4 separate regions of the Homo sapiens genome follow, and regions 2, 3 and 4 are each linked to region 1. Evidence: promoter capture Hi-C in 16 types of primary human blood cells and fetal thymus (Javierre and others, 2016). All regions are on one chromosome and are shown on one strand. The core of a region is centred on a gene start or on the middle of the fragment in contact, and the rest is flanking DNA. Distances in the headings are between cores, read along the strand shown. Region 1 holds the start of SLC4A9 (solute carrier family 4 member 9). Region 2 overlaps CYSTM1 (cysteine rich transmembrane module containing 1). Region 3 has its middle 22 kb from the start of IGIP. Region 4 overlaps LOC101929719 (a long non-coding RNA gene).

The links. Contacts are between HindIII fragments. The CHiCAGO score rates a contact against its expected background, and 5 or more counts as called.
Region 2: a fragment that was not itself captured here is called in contact with the fragment with the promoter of SLC4A9 in region 1 in 1 of 17 cell types (endothelial precursors); the score reaches 5.2 in endothelial precursors.
Region 3: a fragment that was not itself captured here is called in contact with the fragment with the promoter of SLC4A9 in region 1 in 2 of 17 cell types (M0 macrophages and endothelial precursors); the score reaches 5.3 in M0 macrophages.
Region 4: a fragment that was not itself captured here is called in contact with the fragment with the promoter of SLC4A9 in region 1 in 6 of 17 cell types (M0 macrophages, endothelial precursors, M1 macrophages and 3 more); the score reaches 16.9 in M0 macrophages.

What each region holds. Positions count from the first base shown.
Region 1 is chr5:140,358,267-140,361,771 of GRCh38, reverse strand. SLC4A9 (solute carrier family 4 member 9) reads right to left here and starts at 1,578. Exons shown (of 22, transcript NM_031467.3): 1 at 1,306-1,578; 2 at 800-960; 3 at 405-518. The coding sequence starts at 1,535. The HindIII fragment of the contact is 10,887 bases long and covers 1-3,505 here.
Region 2 is chr5:140,207,953-140,211,303 of GRCh38, reverse strand. The region is part of intron 2 of CYSTM1 (cysteine rich transmembrane module containing 1); the gene reads right to left. Among named protein-coding and RNA genes, the nearest start is that of CYSTM1, 34 kb to the right of the region's middle. The HindIII fragment of the contact is 1,674 bases long and covers 430-2,103 here.
Region 3 is chr5:140,146,710-140,150,084 of GRCh38, reverse strand. No RefSeq gene overlaps it. Among named protein-coding and RNA genes, the nearest start is that of IGIP, 22 kb to the right of the region's middle. RefSeq lists an enhancer at 3,103-3,375. The HindIII fragment of the contact is 3,283 bases long and covers 1-2,906 here.
Region 4 is chr5:140,166,346-140,169,800 of GRCh38, reverse strand. LOC101929719 (a long non-coding RNA gene) reads right to left here. Exons shown (of 5, transcript NR_130738.1): 3 at 2,328-2,436; 4 at 1,999-2,120; 5 at 1,016-1,164. Among named protein-coding and RNA genes, the nearest start is that of CYSTM1, 7.1 kb to the left of the region's middle. The HindIII fragment of the contact is 2,022 bases long and covers 983-3,004 here.

The DNA of each region.
Region 1 (3,505 bases), core at 329-2,828:
GCTTTGGGGGTGGATCCACCAGGATTCCCTAATCACTTTTGCCACTGACAAGCTGTAAGAATTAGAGTATACCCTTCTCCACTCTGAGCCACAGTTTTCTCACCACTAAAATGGGGATAATTGTGGTACTATTTACAGGGTGGTTGTGAAGATCAAATGAGATACTGTGAAGATCAAATGGTAGGCCTAGTGCCTACCAAGTACATGTCTTCACAGAACTCTCTTACGATTCTAGCCCCCTGAATCTTCTCCCCACAACATTACCACCAGTTTCCTCTTGCTCATGAGTCCTGGGTTGGAGCCTGAACTAAGCCTGGGCTACTTCTAGCCCTGGAAGGTGCAGGGGAGATCTGAGACCCTGCCACACCAGGGTCTTGGTCCTGGGCCCAGGGAGGGGCTCTCACCCCAGCAGGGCCTGGTGCCTGTGGTCTGGTTGTAATGCTGGGGTCTCTGCAGCAGCAAGGCCTGCAACTGCCCTCTCAGCTCTGGGCTCAGCGACTCCACCCTGGTCACCTGCTCTGGAGAATGGATTGGGGGTCATCTCCTTCCTGAGAGTTCCCTGCCGCACACTCTTCCCCTTCTCCCTCTGCCCAGACACCTTTCCCTTCTGGGAGTCTCAGAATGCCAGGGCCAATGAACTTGCTCCTCCACCCTGCTTTTCCATGTCCACCCTGTGACAAGGGTAGACAATCCTAGGAGGGGTAGGGATGGGCTCTGGAAGATTTCAAGACTTTGGAGGGGAAATCCTGGGGAAAAGGCATGGCTACCCAGGCCCTTCCTGCAAAGGATCCCAGCCTACCCACGAGCTCCAGGAGGCTCTGAGCTGGGCAGTCCAGCAGTACAAGGCCCTCGGCCAGCAGGCTGCGGAGCTTCTGGAGGCTGGGCAGTGCCAGGGTGGGCACGTGGGGGGCACTCCACCGGCCTGCAGCCACCTCCAACTTCTCCTCAAACAGTACCCACCTGTGATGAAGGTGGGTAGACAGTGTTATTGAGGGCATTTCTCCCATGTCCAGGAGCAGAGATGCAGAGGAGCTAGGGAAGGCAAGGCAATGAGGGCATCCTGGGCCCAGTGGTGTGAAGTCTCCCCCCCACCCTGGCAGTCACCCCTCATCTAGGGTCTTGGGGATCTCAAAACTAGACTGCAGAGGAGGCTGGGCATCATGGAAGGTAAGACCCTGAAATAAGGGAACACAGCTGGGAAAATCCTAATTTTGGGCAGCCCCATAAGAAGCGCTGGGGGACATATAGGAGGCTCCAGCTGGGGAAGGGGAAGGATCCCACAGAACTGGCCTGCATCCAACTTACCTGCCTGTCTCTCTCCACTCCAGCGCCTGGGGCCAGCCCAGCAGCTCATTCAGCTGAATGAAGAGCAGAGGGTCTTTGGGTACTCCCAGTTCCTTGCTCTCTGTGTCTGAGGGGCCATCAGGGCTGGGGCCGGTGCCAGGGTCAGGGTTGCTGTCCAGCTCCCCTGAAGGAATATTTCTAGGAGCACTGGAGGCTTCAAACCCTTCCTGGCCTGGCAGCTTCATTTCCATGAGGCTTGCACAGAATCTCAGAACCAGTACAGTCCTAGGTTCTGAAGCCAGGGGCCCTCTGGCTGGTTGCATTTATAATGCATCCCCCACTGCAGCACAACACAAACAGAACAAGGCCTGCTGACTCCAGACTCTACCGGTCACCTACTCCCCTACTTGCTTACCCCACCCCCTGCTGGCATAAGAGTATTTGTAAGACTAGTCTGGCCTTTCCCAGGCTCTCCAGAAATGCCCAACCTGGGGCCAAAATGTGTATGTGCATTTCCTGTGGTATCAGGTCTGATCCCACTGTGTTTTGTGTAAAGAAACAGGAGTAAATGATTGGCTTGGGTCTGAGGACTTGGTACCCCCAGATTTTGCTGCCCCCCTCACTTGTATCAAATATAAATACCAAACACCCAGGACTGTTTTGGGTGTCACCAACACACCCCTGGGGCCACAGACACACCTATTTGGACAAACAGGGACCTAATAAATAATTGAGTCCATGGAAGCCAGACAGGGTAAGGGAGATAGCAGGCAGAGGACCTGCCCATTAAATGGGATAATGGTGGAAGACCTAGTGTCTGAGTCTTAAATTCTTTTCTTTTCTTTTTTTTTGAGACAGGGTCTCACTCTCTCACCCAGTCTGGAGTGTAGTGGCACAGTTATAGCTCACTGCACCTTTGACCTCCTAGCTCAAGTGATCCTCCCACCTCAGCCTCCAAGGTAGTTGGGACTACAGGTGCACGCCACCATGCCCAGCTAAGTCTTTTATTTTATTTTATTTTATTTTTGAGACGGAGTCTCGCTCTGTCGCCCAGGCTGGAGTGCAGTGGTGTGATCTCAGCTCACTGCAACCTTCACCTCTTGGGTTCAAGTGATTCTCCTGCCTCAGCCTCCCAAGTAGCTGAGATTACAGACATGTGCCACCAGGCCTGGCTGATTTTTATATTTTTAGTAGAGACAGGGTTTCACCATGTTGGCCAGGCTGGTCTCAAAAACTCCTGACCTCAGGTGATCCATCCGCCTCAGCCTCCCAAAGTGCTAGGATTACAAGCGTAAGCCACTGTGCCTGGCTGCCCAGCTAACGAGTCTTAAATTCTTTTGTCCAACAACACTTAGGAATTCCCTAATTTAGCTGTGTCCCTGGGATCTGCCCTGTGAGGATGGAGGAGCCCACTAGGGGGTGTAAGTGAAGGAGTTCCTGGAGCTAAATGAGCAAAGGAAAATGTGGTCCATTATTTGCAAATCCTGTTGACTCTATCTTCAAAATATACCCATAATCCAACCACATCTCCCCACCTCCAGCACTGCTACCCTGATTCAAACAACCATCATTTCTCACCTGAATTATTTCAGTAGCTTCCTGGTCTCTTGTAATAACCCCCCTGCTTCCACTCTTCCTCCCTTGCCCAAAGTCCATCCTCCACACCATACATGTCCTTTCAAAAGGCAGTTGAGCCACATTACTCTTCGGTTCAATACTCACCCAACACACTCCCATTACTCCTAGAAGAAGAAGAAAAAAAAATCAAGCTCCTTGTCGTGGCCTGCAAGATTCACACCCTGGCCCCAACCCACCTCTCTGACGGCATCTCACACCAGCCTCCCCTCGCTCACTCCTTTCTAACCACACTGGCCTTCACCTGTTCTGCAAAACCTGTTCCTGCCTGAGGATCTTTGCAGGATCTATTTTCTCTGTAAGGAAAGCCTTTCCCCCATATCCTTACATGACAATCTGTGACCTAGGTCTCATCTCAGACGTTAGCTACTCACGGAAATCTTCCTTTTCCATCCTATCCTAAGTTTCTTTCTTTTTTTTTTTTTTTTTTTTTTTTGAGACGGAGTCTCGCTCTGTTGCCCAGGCTGGAGTGCAGTGGCATGATCTCGGCTTACTGCAAGCTCCGCCTCCCGTGTTCACGCCATTCTCCTGCCTCAGCCTCCAGAGTAGCTGGGACTACAGGCGCCCGCCACCACGTCCGGCTAAT
Region 2 (3,351 bases), core at 17-2,516, 150 kb after region 1:
ATCACTTCTTAGCTCTGTGACCATGAACAAGTTAGCCTTTCCATGCTTCAGTTTCTTCATCTATATGATGGAGATAAGAAGACCTACCTTGCAGGATTGTTCTTAGGACTAGATGAGCTAATATACAAAAGTGCTTGACACATAATAACTACTAGACAAATACTGGTTCTATTATTTGGCTAGTATTTATTATTTAATAATTAATACTTAAAAACTTAAACCACTGGCCCCAAACTCTTCTGGTTCTGGTGGTTTTAATCTAGAAATTGTTACCAAACATCCAGATTCTCTAGCCCCAGACTGCAGAGAGGCTCAGAAACACAGCCTGTCCAGTCAGGAGAGAGTTCTTTATAGTTCCAAATTTCCAAAACCTTCTCCCTCAGCAGGCCATCAGAAAAAGTCATGTATTTTTCAGCTGCTCATGAAGCTTATTAGGAAGACCTTTTCCTTCACTGGGTTCAAAAGCAATGGCTCACTTAAAATTTTAATTAAGGCCAGGTGCAGTGGCTCACACCTGTAATCCCAGTACTTTGGGAGGCCGAGGCGGGCAGATGGTTTGAGCCCAGGAACTCAAGACCAGCCTGTGTAACAGAGCGAGACCCTGTCTCTACAAAAAATACAAAAATTAGCTGGGCATCGTGGTGCATACCTGTGGTCCTGGCTACTCAGGTGGCTAAGGTGGGATTATTTGAGCCTTGGGAGGCAGAGGTTGGAGTGAGCCAAAGTTGCACCACTGCACTCCAACCTGGGCAACAGAGCAAGACCCTATTTCAAAAAAAAAAAAGAAGAAAAATAAATTTTCTTAAATTAAGACTCTATGGCAGTGGTTCTCAAAGGAGGGGTGATGTTGGCCCCTAGGGGACATTTGGTAATGTCTAGAGACATTTTCAGTTGTTATAACTGAGGTGATTGCTACTACTGGTATTTAATGGTAGAGGCTAGGGATGCTGCTGAGCATCCTACAATACACAGGACAGCCCCCACAACAAAAAATCATCTGGCCCAAGTGTCAATAGCACTGAGGCTGAGAAATTTTAACCTATAGAAAAGTTGCGTATGACAAAAGTGGGTGGGGTGGGGGACCAAAATACACAATGGTATCTACATTATAGTGGTAGCCAGGTATAAATGACATGTGCGTATAAACAAGAACTGACTAGGAAATAAGACAATGAAAATGATTTGAGAAAGTAGGGTGTGTGAATTATGATAATTAAAAAAATTTTTATGAGCATTATTACTATGTTTAAGGACCAGAAAAAGAGTGAAGGCCAGAACTCAGTGGAGGCAAGAATGCCCCAAAACTACATCTCTCCATTCTGATTATTAAGACATTTGTGACTGCTGGTATTATAACAGTGCTCCAACCCCCTGCTACATAATGAATATTCTACTCAGGTCCCAACAAATGAGTAAGGTGAGAAAGGAAAAAAAAAGTGCAAACAGCCAGGCGCGGTGGCTCACGCCTGTAATCCCAGTACTTTGGGAGGCTGAGGTGGGCAGATCACCTGAGGTCAGGAGTTTGAGACCAGCCTGGCCAACATGGTGAAACCCTGTCTCTACAAAAATACAAAATTACTGGGCACGGTGGCTCACGCCTGTAATCCCAGCACTTTGGGAGGGCAAGGCAGGTGAATCACAAGGTCAGGAGTTCGAGACCAGTCTGGTCAATATGGTGAAACCCCGCCTTTACTAAAAATACAAAAATTAGCTGGGCATGGTGGCAGGCACCTGTAGTCCCAGCTATTCAGGAGGCTGAGGCAGGAGAATCGCTTGAACCCGGGAGGCGGAGGTTGCAGTGAGCTGAGATCACGCCACTGCACCCTAGCCTGGGCAACAGAGCAAGACTCCATCTCAAAAAAAAAAAAAATTAGCCAGGCATGGTGTTGTGTGCCTGTAATCCCAGCTACTCGGAAGGCTCAGGCAGGATAATCACTTGAACCCAGGAGGCGGAGGTTGCAGTGAGCTGAGATCACACCATTGCACTCCAGCCTGGGCAACAGAGCAAGACTCCATCTCAAAAAAAAAAAAAAAGAAAAGAAAGAAAGTACGAGCAGTCTTTTCTACAAAATCAAGCCCAGAGTTTAACCACTTAAAAAAGCTTATTCCAGTCCCCTTCTGTCCTCTCTCCTGCATATCTTTAAACTCTTCTTCATCTTGAATCACGTGACAAGTAGTTACTGGTGAATGGTTAAATTAGGCAAGGTTTCCCATCATGGACCTTTCAGATAGTAGAGAAGACCTTAATTCTTTTTTTTTTTTTTTGAGATGGAGTCTCGCTCTGTCACCCAGGCTGGAGTGCAGTGGCGTGATCTCGGCTCACTGCAACCTCTGCCTCCTGGGTTCACATCATTCTCCTGCCTCAGCTTCCCGAGTAGCTGGGACTACAGGCGCCTGCCACCACACCTGGCTAATTTTTTGTATTTTTAGTAGAGACAGGGTTTCACCATGTTAGCCAGGATGGTCTCAATCTCCTGACCTCGTGATCCGCCTGCCTCGGCCTCCCAAAGTGCTGGGATTATAGGCGTGAGCCACCACACCCAGCCAAGAAGACCTTAATTCTTTAAAAATATTTTTTTATTTTAATTTTTGTGGGTACATAGTAGGTGTATATATTTATGGGGTACATGAGATGTTTTGATACAGGCATGTAATGCATCATAGAGAATGGGGTATCCTTTCCCTCAAGTATTTATCCTTTGTGTTACAAACAATCAAATTATACTCTTTTAGTTATTTTTAAATGTACAATAAAATTATTACTGACTATAGTCACTCTGTTGTGCTAGCAAATACCAGACTCATTCATTCTTTCTAACTATTCTTTTGTATCCACTAACTATTCCCACCTCCCCCTACTACCCTTGCCAGCCTCTGGTTACCATCCTACTCTCTATCTCCATGAGTTCAATTGTTCTGATTTTTAGATCCCACAAATAAGTGAGAACACACAATGTTTGTCTTTGTGCCTAGCTTATTTCACTTAGCATAATGGCCTCCAGTTCCATCCATGTTGTTGCAAATGATCTCATTCTTTTTTATGACTGAATAGTACTCCACTGTGAATAAATACCACATTTTTTTAAAATCCAGTCATCTGCTGATGGGCATGTAGGTTGTTTCCAGATTTTAGCTATTGTGAACAAAGCTGCAACAAACATGAGAGTGCAGGTATCTCTTTGATATATTGATTTCCTTCCTTTTGGGTAAATACTCAGCAGTGGGATTGCTGGATCATAGAGTACCTCTATTTTTAGTTTTTTGAGGAACCTCCAAACTGTTCCCTATAGTAGTTGTACTAATTTACATTCCCCCCAACAGTGTACAAGGGTTCCCTTTTCTTCACAACCT
Region 3 (3,375 bases), core at 16-2,515, 210 kb after region 1:
GAGACCCACATCTGCAAAGGCCAGGGCCACAGGAAGAAAGCAGTGATATAAAGCACTTCCCAAAGTCCTAGGCTTGGGCCAAACTACGTATAGCAACTCAAGGGTTAATCCCCACCCCACCCTCATCAGTCTCATCCTAAAGAGAAAAGGAAGCAAAACAGAGACCACGGCTGCCTGAGGTGGCAGGCTGCCTTATCTGTTGTGGCTGCTGCTGGATAACCTGCGGCACTGCCATGGGTACTTGTGTGCCAGCTGAGGGACAGGCATTCCCAGGCGGGCCACCCTGGAGATCCCCCCTGGTGAGATCAAGAGGCATGAGACAGAGGCTATGCCCAAGGACTTAGGCCAGTTGGTGGCCCTGGACACATTTGCTCCTTAAGGCTGAGGCCTGGGTCAAGCTCCCAGCATTGCATAGCACCCTCCTCCCAGCCACCAGCCATGGGTTGGCACCCTGGTGAGGAGCTGGCCCTGCTGAGGGGCCCTGTACCCCTGTTCAGGGAGAACACAGGGATCCTCAGCCTTCTCTGAGCCAGCCTATGGTGGGTGGGCCTTGCAGGGGCTATCTCTTGCCCAGGTACTGGTATTCCCAAGGTGGTCTTTGGCTGCGTGGGTGGCACAGTCCTTACCTGGAAGCAGAGCAGCCTGCCCCACCCAGATCCATGTCACAGTGTAGAGTGGATGAGAAGTCAAAGCCAGGCAGGACCAGGCGTCTGGAATAGCCATTTTGTTGGATGGGTCCCAGGCCCAGGGCTCTGCTGCCCAGGCCCTGCCATTCTTCTGAGGGACAGGGGTGGGGAACTTATCCTAGCCAGGCCTTAAAAATGAGAAGGCCAGCCTGTAATCCCAGCAATTTAGGAGGCCGAGGCAGGCGGATCACGAGGTCAGGAGATCGAGACCATACTGGCTAACGCGGTGAAACCCTGTCTCTACTAAAAATACAAAAAATTAGCCGGGTGTGCTGGTGGGCGCTTGTAGTCCCAGCTACTCGGGAGGCTGAGGCAGGAGAATGGCATGAACCCGGAAGGCAGAGCTTTCAGTGAGCCGAGATTGTGCCATTGCACTCCAGCCTGGGTGATGGAGAGAGACTCTGTCTCCAAAAAAAAAAAAAAAACAAAAAAAAAAAAAAAATGAGAAGGCCAGAGAACCAGTGGAGTGGAGGCTGGGGGTGGGTGGGGTGTGTGAATGTCAATGTGCCAAACCTCATCACTCCTCTCCTAGGAGTTCTTTCATTAAATGCCCCAATCCCAGCTCCTCCTCCCATGGTCCATGGAACACAGAAGGCTGGGACTCAGCGGCCGCACAAGCCTGAAGCCCCACCCCTTAGCTGGCCTGAAAACTTCAGTCAGTGACCATGCGGGGCACTAGAACCTCCTGCCACCAATCAACAGGAAGCAAGGAGAGATGCCCGGGTATCCTCAGAGAGGGAGGGGCCATGCAGAGGGGCTGGCAGATTTTCTCGGTGTGGGGAATGAGGGATAGGGCACAGGAAGGGACGTTCTCAAGGGTCTAGGGTCATGTTTCAGGAGGAAGATAAGCACCAAGCCAAGTTCTACCAGGTATATGCCTGGCTCCTGCACCTCCCATGGTCCTTCCCATTCAGCCGGGCTTCCTGTCTCCTGGCCTTTCTATAGGTGCTCAAAGCATCCTGTGATTCTCTTTATCATGGCTTATAATTCTCTGCTTGCCAAGTGGTTTGATTAATGTCTGTGTCCCCTATAAACCATGACTCTACACGGTGGCATTCTAAGGATGGCAGAATCCCCAGAATCCTATACTTGTCTTCATCGCTGTCTACCTAAGAACTTAGCACTCCCCAGGGCGTAGCACACAGTAGGTGCTCAGTGTACATTTTAGTGAATGAATGAATAAAGGAATAAATTTCCCCATCAACCACCATGAGCTCTAGGAGGGCAGTAATTGCTTCTTGTTTGTTTTTGCATCCACAACCCGTGGCCTGGTGCCTGGCACAAAGTAGGTTCCCATTAAATTGTGTGGGATACTCACAATTTGGGTATCTCTCCTGGGAAGAAAGGGGTCCCTGGCAGGGATAAGGAGAAAAGGCAGTGCTAACTGGAAGAGGGTGAGAGGTGAGGTTTGGGTGGCTGAACTGGGGTGCTCTTCCAGACAGGTTTGGGTGAATGGGGAAGCTCTGTGGGAGCCACTCCTGGTAAGCACTCACCTATGAGAAAATTTGAGGAAGACACAATACTGCAGCAAGGTAGTAGTCTAAGCCAGAGCCAGAGGCCATGGCCACACAGGCTATTCCCCCACCCCATTCCCAGAGCCTCCTAAGGGTGGGGACAGGAGCAGGGCTCCAACAAGTGCCACTCTTTAGACCTGAGGGTCTTGTGGTCATGTGAGGCTCTGGACTTCAGGTCACTCCTTGCCTTTGCAGGGCCAGGGAGTCTAAGACACATACGGGAACTGAAGGACAGAGGGAGTGGGTGTGGGGTCTTGCCCTGGGCTTGGAGTAGATCCCCTGTACTGTCTGCAGAGTGTCAGTGCTGTGTCCTGGGAGATGAGGCTCCCCTTGGGGATGCAGAGTCACTGAGGGCCTCTAAACATGGGATCAATTGCTGGGTCTATTTTTGATGTCTGGATGAAGTAAGGAGGAAATAGTCTCCTAGGACCCAGGTTCCAGATGCTAAAGAAAGTTAATGTCTGGAGTTTGCAACCCAGTCCCACACCTCAGAGTCTGAAAGACACTTAGGTTATAAAGTGTCTCATGGACACCCTGGTGGGCAGTGCAGTGCCCTCATCCAGGACTTCCCTCCCTCAATGATTTGAGCATCTATCTAACCAACCCTGAATCAAAATAAGGACTGACACAGATGTCAGACCTGGCACTCCCCATGTGGAAACCTGTGCTGAATGTTAGGATTTGAAGCCAAAGCATATGTGAAGCTTCAGAATTAACTTTTAATTCTTGCTTTAAGTTGCAAAAAACGAAAACAAATAAAAAAAACCCCACCAAATCTAACCAAACCAAACCAAAACAAAATGTGGGTGATTAACTAGCAGACAAGTAGAGAGGGGCTGTTTCAAAAACTTCCTAAACATAACTTCCTTTTACTCAATGGTAGAAACTTTTACCTGGAGTGGATACTGGCTAGTATGTGGACACACAGGGGAATTTTTTTTTTTTTTTTTTAACACAGGTTTATCACCAACTCTGGCAGTTTTGAGAAAGACTCACTTGGGTTCTAAGGAACAGAATTTTTCTGTGAAAACTGCATCTCATCAAGCTGAAAGATCTCCAGCAGTGCCAAGGCCAGGGAGCAGGTCTCTGTCCTCAGCTGCCAGCTTGTTGGCTGCAGCCCCAAAAGACCTACTGATATTTGGTCCTCATCAAGAGCTGACCCAGAGAGTCCATGT
Region 4 (3,455 bases), core at 744-3,243, 190 kb after region 1:
GCTTTTCTCCTGAATGTGTGGCCGTAGCCAGGGCATGTAACACATTGGCTGGTTCCATGTTCTCTTCTGGAGCTGGGGGTGAACACAGCCTCCCCCAAATCCCACAGTTGAAAGTGTGGAAGAATGGCTTCCCAAGGAAAATTCAAGTTTAGTTACCAGAAGTAGGAGGAATGGATGCTGAGCAAACAAAAAACACAACTGACCCCTACAGGCCACCAATACTGAAACCACAAGCTTCCTGAAAGCTCCTCCTATTGAAAGGTTCTGTAATGTAATACAGCTATGAACCTGTGAATTCATAGGCTTGAATTCACTTGGAAATCAACTTACCTTCTCTTGTATTTCCAGAAAAGTTGTATCTAATGAGAAGCAAATTCTGGCACTCAGAGGTTGAGCCATGTTGATATCATTGCATAGAACCTGCCATTGGTTTTACCTAAATGCACTCTCCTTTCTGGAAGTACTACTTCTGAGGAAAGGGCATCAGGGAGCACTTAATGCTTTAAATGTGTTTGTACAGCAACTTGCGTTCTCAAGAGGTATCACATAAATGCATGTGTTTTTAATTTTGACTTGATTCCTGAAGTAGCCTGGCCTTCTGATAGTGATCTTAGAAAATCAACCTAGAAGAAGAATACATTTTTCTCCCAGGCTGTGAGTCAAATGACTATGGCAATGAAGTTCCGTCAACTATGAAGCATCCTTCTGCTTTTTAATCTTTTCAGTAATTAAGAAAATAAATTCAACACATATAAATTAGAAATAATCAGCTTATAAGTCTATTTGCATTTATATTTTTAAAATGGACCGATGACTTAGCACATGACATAAGAAAATAAGTCAGGGAAATATTAAATCCACATATTCATTCAACACATTTACTGAGGGCCTATGGCCTACCATGTGCCAGGGACTGCTCTAGGCCCTGGGGATGTAGAAATAAGCAAAACAGATTTTTTAAAGTCCTTGTGCATATGAAGCTTACATTCTAGTAGGTGTGTCCATTTATATACAGTCTTCAAGTCTCTGTGCCATTGACAAGAACTAGTACTATATACCAGGAAGCATGCATGGCGAATCCTCAGATTCCTCTATGCTAGGCTTTCTGCCAGTGCTCTGCATACATCATCTCATTATTCTCTTCTTCCTAAGAGATGTAGACACCTGTTCAAGGAGCCACAGGAAATGAGTGGTAGGGTCAAGACCAGAACACCTATATCTATATCTGCCTTTTAGCTCATATTTTCTCTTGGGGTGTGGTTGCGGGGGATGGTGGGAAGTGGTAGGGACTGAGGCATATCAGATAACATGCTCTGTGCAAAGGGAGCACTACTCATTCAGATCCAGCCACTTGACATTCAGGAATATAACTCAATGTGGCCAAGTTTTCTGATTTTTCAAGAGAAGCCAGCAAACAGGATTTTGACATGAAAACCAATTTCAAAATACCATGAAAGCCAAACCAAATTTGTCTGGGTACAACTAAGGCTACAGATCTGCCCCTCTGTTAGAGGTCATGCTGTGACCAGGAGGGTGCCTGGGGAGGTAGGATTCCAGATAGCAACCTTGAAACTAGTTGGCCAGCCGGGCACAGTGGCTCATGCCTGTAATCCCAGCACTTTGGGAGTCCAAGGCAGTTGATCATTTGAGGTCAGGAGTTCAAGACCAGCCTGGCCAACATGGTGAAACACCATCTCTACTGAAAATACAAAAAATTAGGTGGACGTGGTGGTACACAACTGTAATGCCAGCTACTCGGGAGGCTGAGGCAGGAGAATCACTTGAACCTGGGAGGTGGAGGCTGCAGTGAGCCAAGATCATGCCACTGCACTCCAGCCTGGGCAACTCTATCTCAAAAAACAAACAAACAAAAAACAACGAAAAACCCCAGAAACTAAATGTGTGTAGAAAACTGCAAATACATCTGTGGTACTTACACAAAGTGTTTCTCAGGTTGATTTTCAAAGACTAAGGTAGAAAAATGGGGCCCTTATTTACCAAAAAAGCAAAGTCCTTTAATGAAAGCTACCAGGGAGGCAGCAGCTGGGGCGCTCCAACACCTAGCCATGGAGGAGGTTGGCATGGAACCATCTGATGCTGGGCTGACAGGCCACGCTTCTCTGAAAAGGAAAATTTAACTTCAGGGTGGGCTTCATGTTACATCTGAGGCCCTAATAATGATCATTATGCTGTCAGCACACAAGACATGGTTCAAAAAAATTCTCCTCCTTAAAGTCACATTCTATGTGCTTTCTGGTCCTTCCTAACCTCCTCCACCCTGTGGCCTCCCACACTCAACACAACTTTCCTTTTCCCCACCCACTTGCCAAGGAACTGCGGCCATCAGACAACATATGGAGGTCTCATCACCGGGATGGTCCGTAACTGGAAAGGAGTTGGTCATCTGGTGTTAGCAGCTCCTCTTTGTGTCGTAGCCTTTGGAAGGAAAGAGGGAGGAACACAGAATAGCGTCCATGTTTAAAAAACATTTGCACCATCAACAGACTGAAACTCTACAAGACAGTGGTCTTACTTTAAAAGTGTAAAGGAATTCCCATCCTCTTGATCTTAGCAAGATCAGAAAACCTCTGTTTACTACAAGAATTGTTTCAGAAAGGGAAGTGAAATCTGGCACATGAAAAATCCCATTTCTATCCACTCTCAAGATAGTAACTTTGTAGCCATATGCCATGTGTATTTCATCATAGCAAAACAGTACTGTAGTGCACTGGGGACAGATTTGCTGCCACTGCTGCTGCTGCTGCTGCTGCTGCCATCACCACCTCCACCACCTCCTTCTGTTGCTTGGATAAAGCTGAGGCATGTGGCACTGTTGTGAGATTCTTAGAAGATACAGGCAAGTAGTCCTGGCTAGGACCCTACAATTGAGTTTGCACCATGAGGCTCTAAATCTCAGCCTCTCTAGGTCCTGGTACTGTATCTTTGGAAGACACACACAGGAAGGACTTAGATACCTTCTGAAAAAGATGGGACAAAGAAAGCTTATACTCCTCCTCTCCCCTCCTCTTGCTTGGAAGATCATTTAAGATTAAGAGATGAAGTGACTTTTCCCACTGAAGGGGACACAGGGCAATGCTATGATTCGGAGTGTCCAGAGGCCTGTGTTCCAGCCATGGTTCCCCTATGTCCTCACCTTGGGACCCAGCACTACTTACTCCACCTTTTTGAGTCTCAGTTTCCCCATCTAAGAAATGGGAATAATAATAGGACCAACCACATAGAGCTGTTGTGAGGGTTAATTCATTGAGATGCTGAATGGTAAGAGAGGCTTCCTTTGCACAGAGCTTGTTCTCTAGTTTACTGCAGCCTCCAGTAATCCCCTTCCTGCCTCCCTGTCTGCACCCTAGGAGAAGGTACAGGTTAAAAGACAGATCTATGGTCCGATCATGGCCCCATCTCTTATTTCTGTGGCTCCTTGGACTGGTGATCAGGAG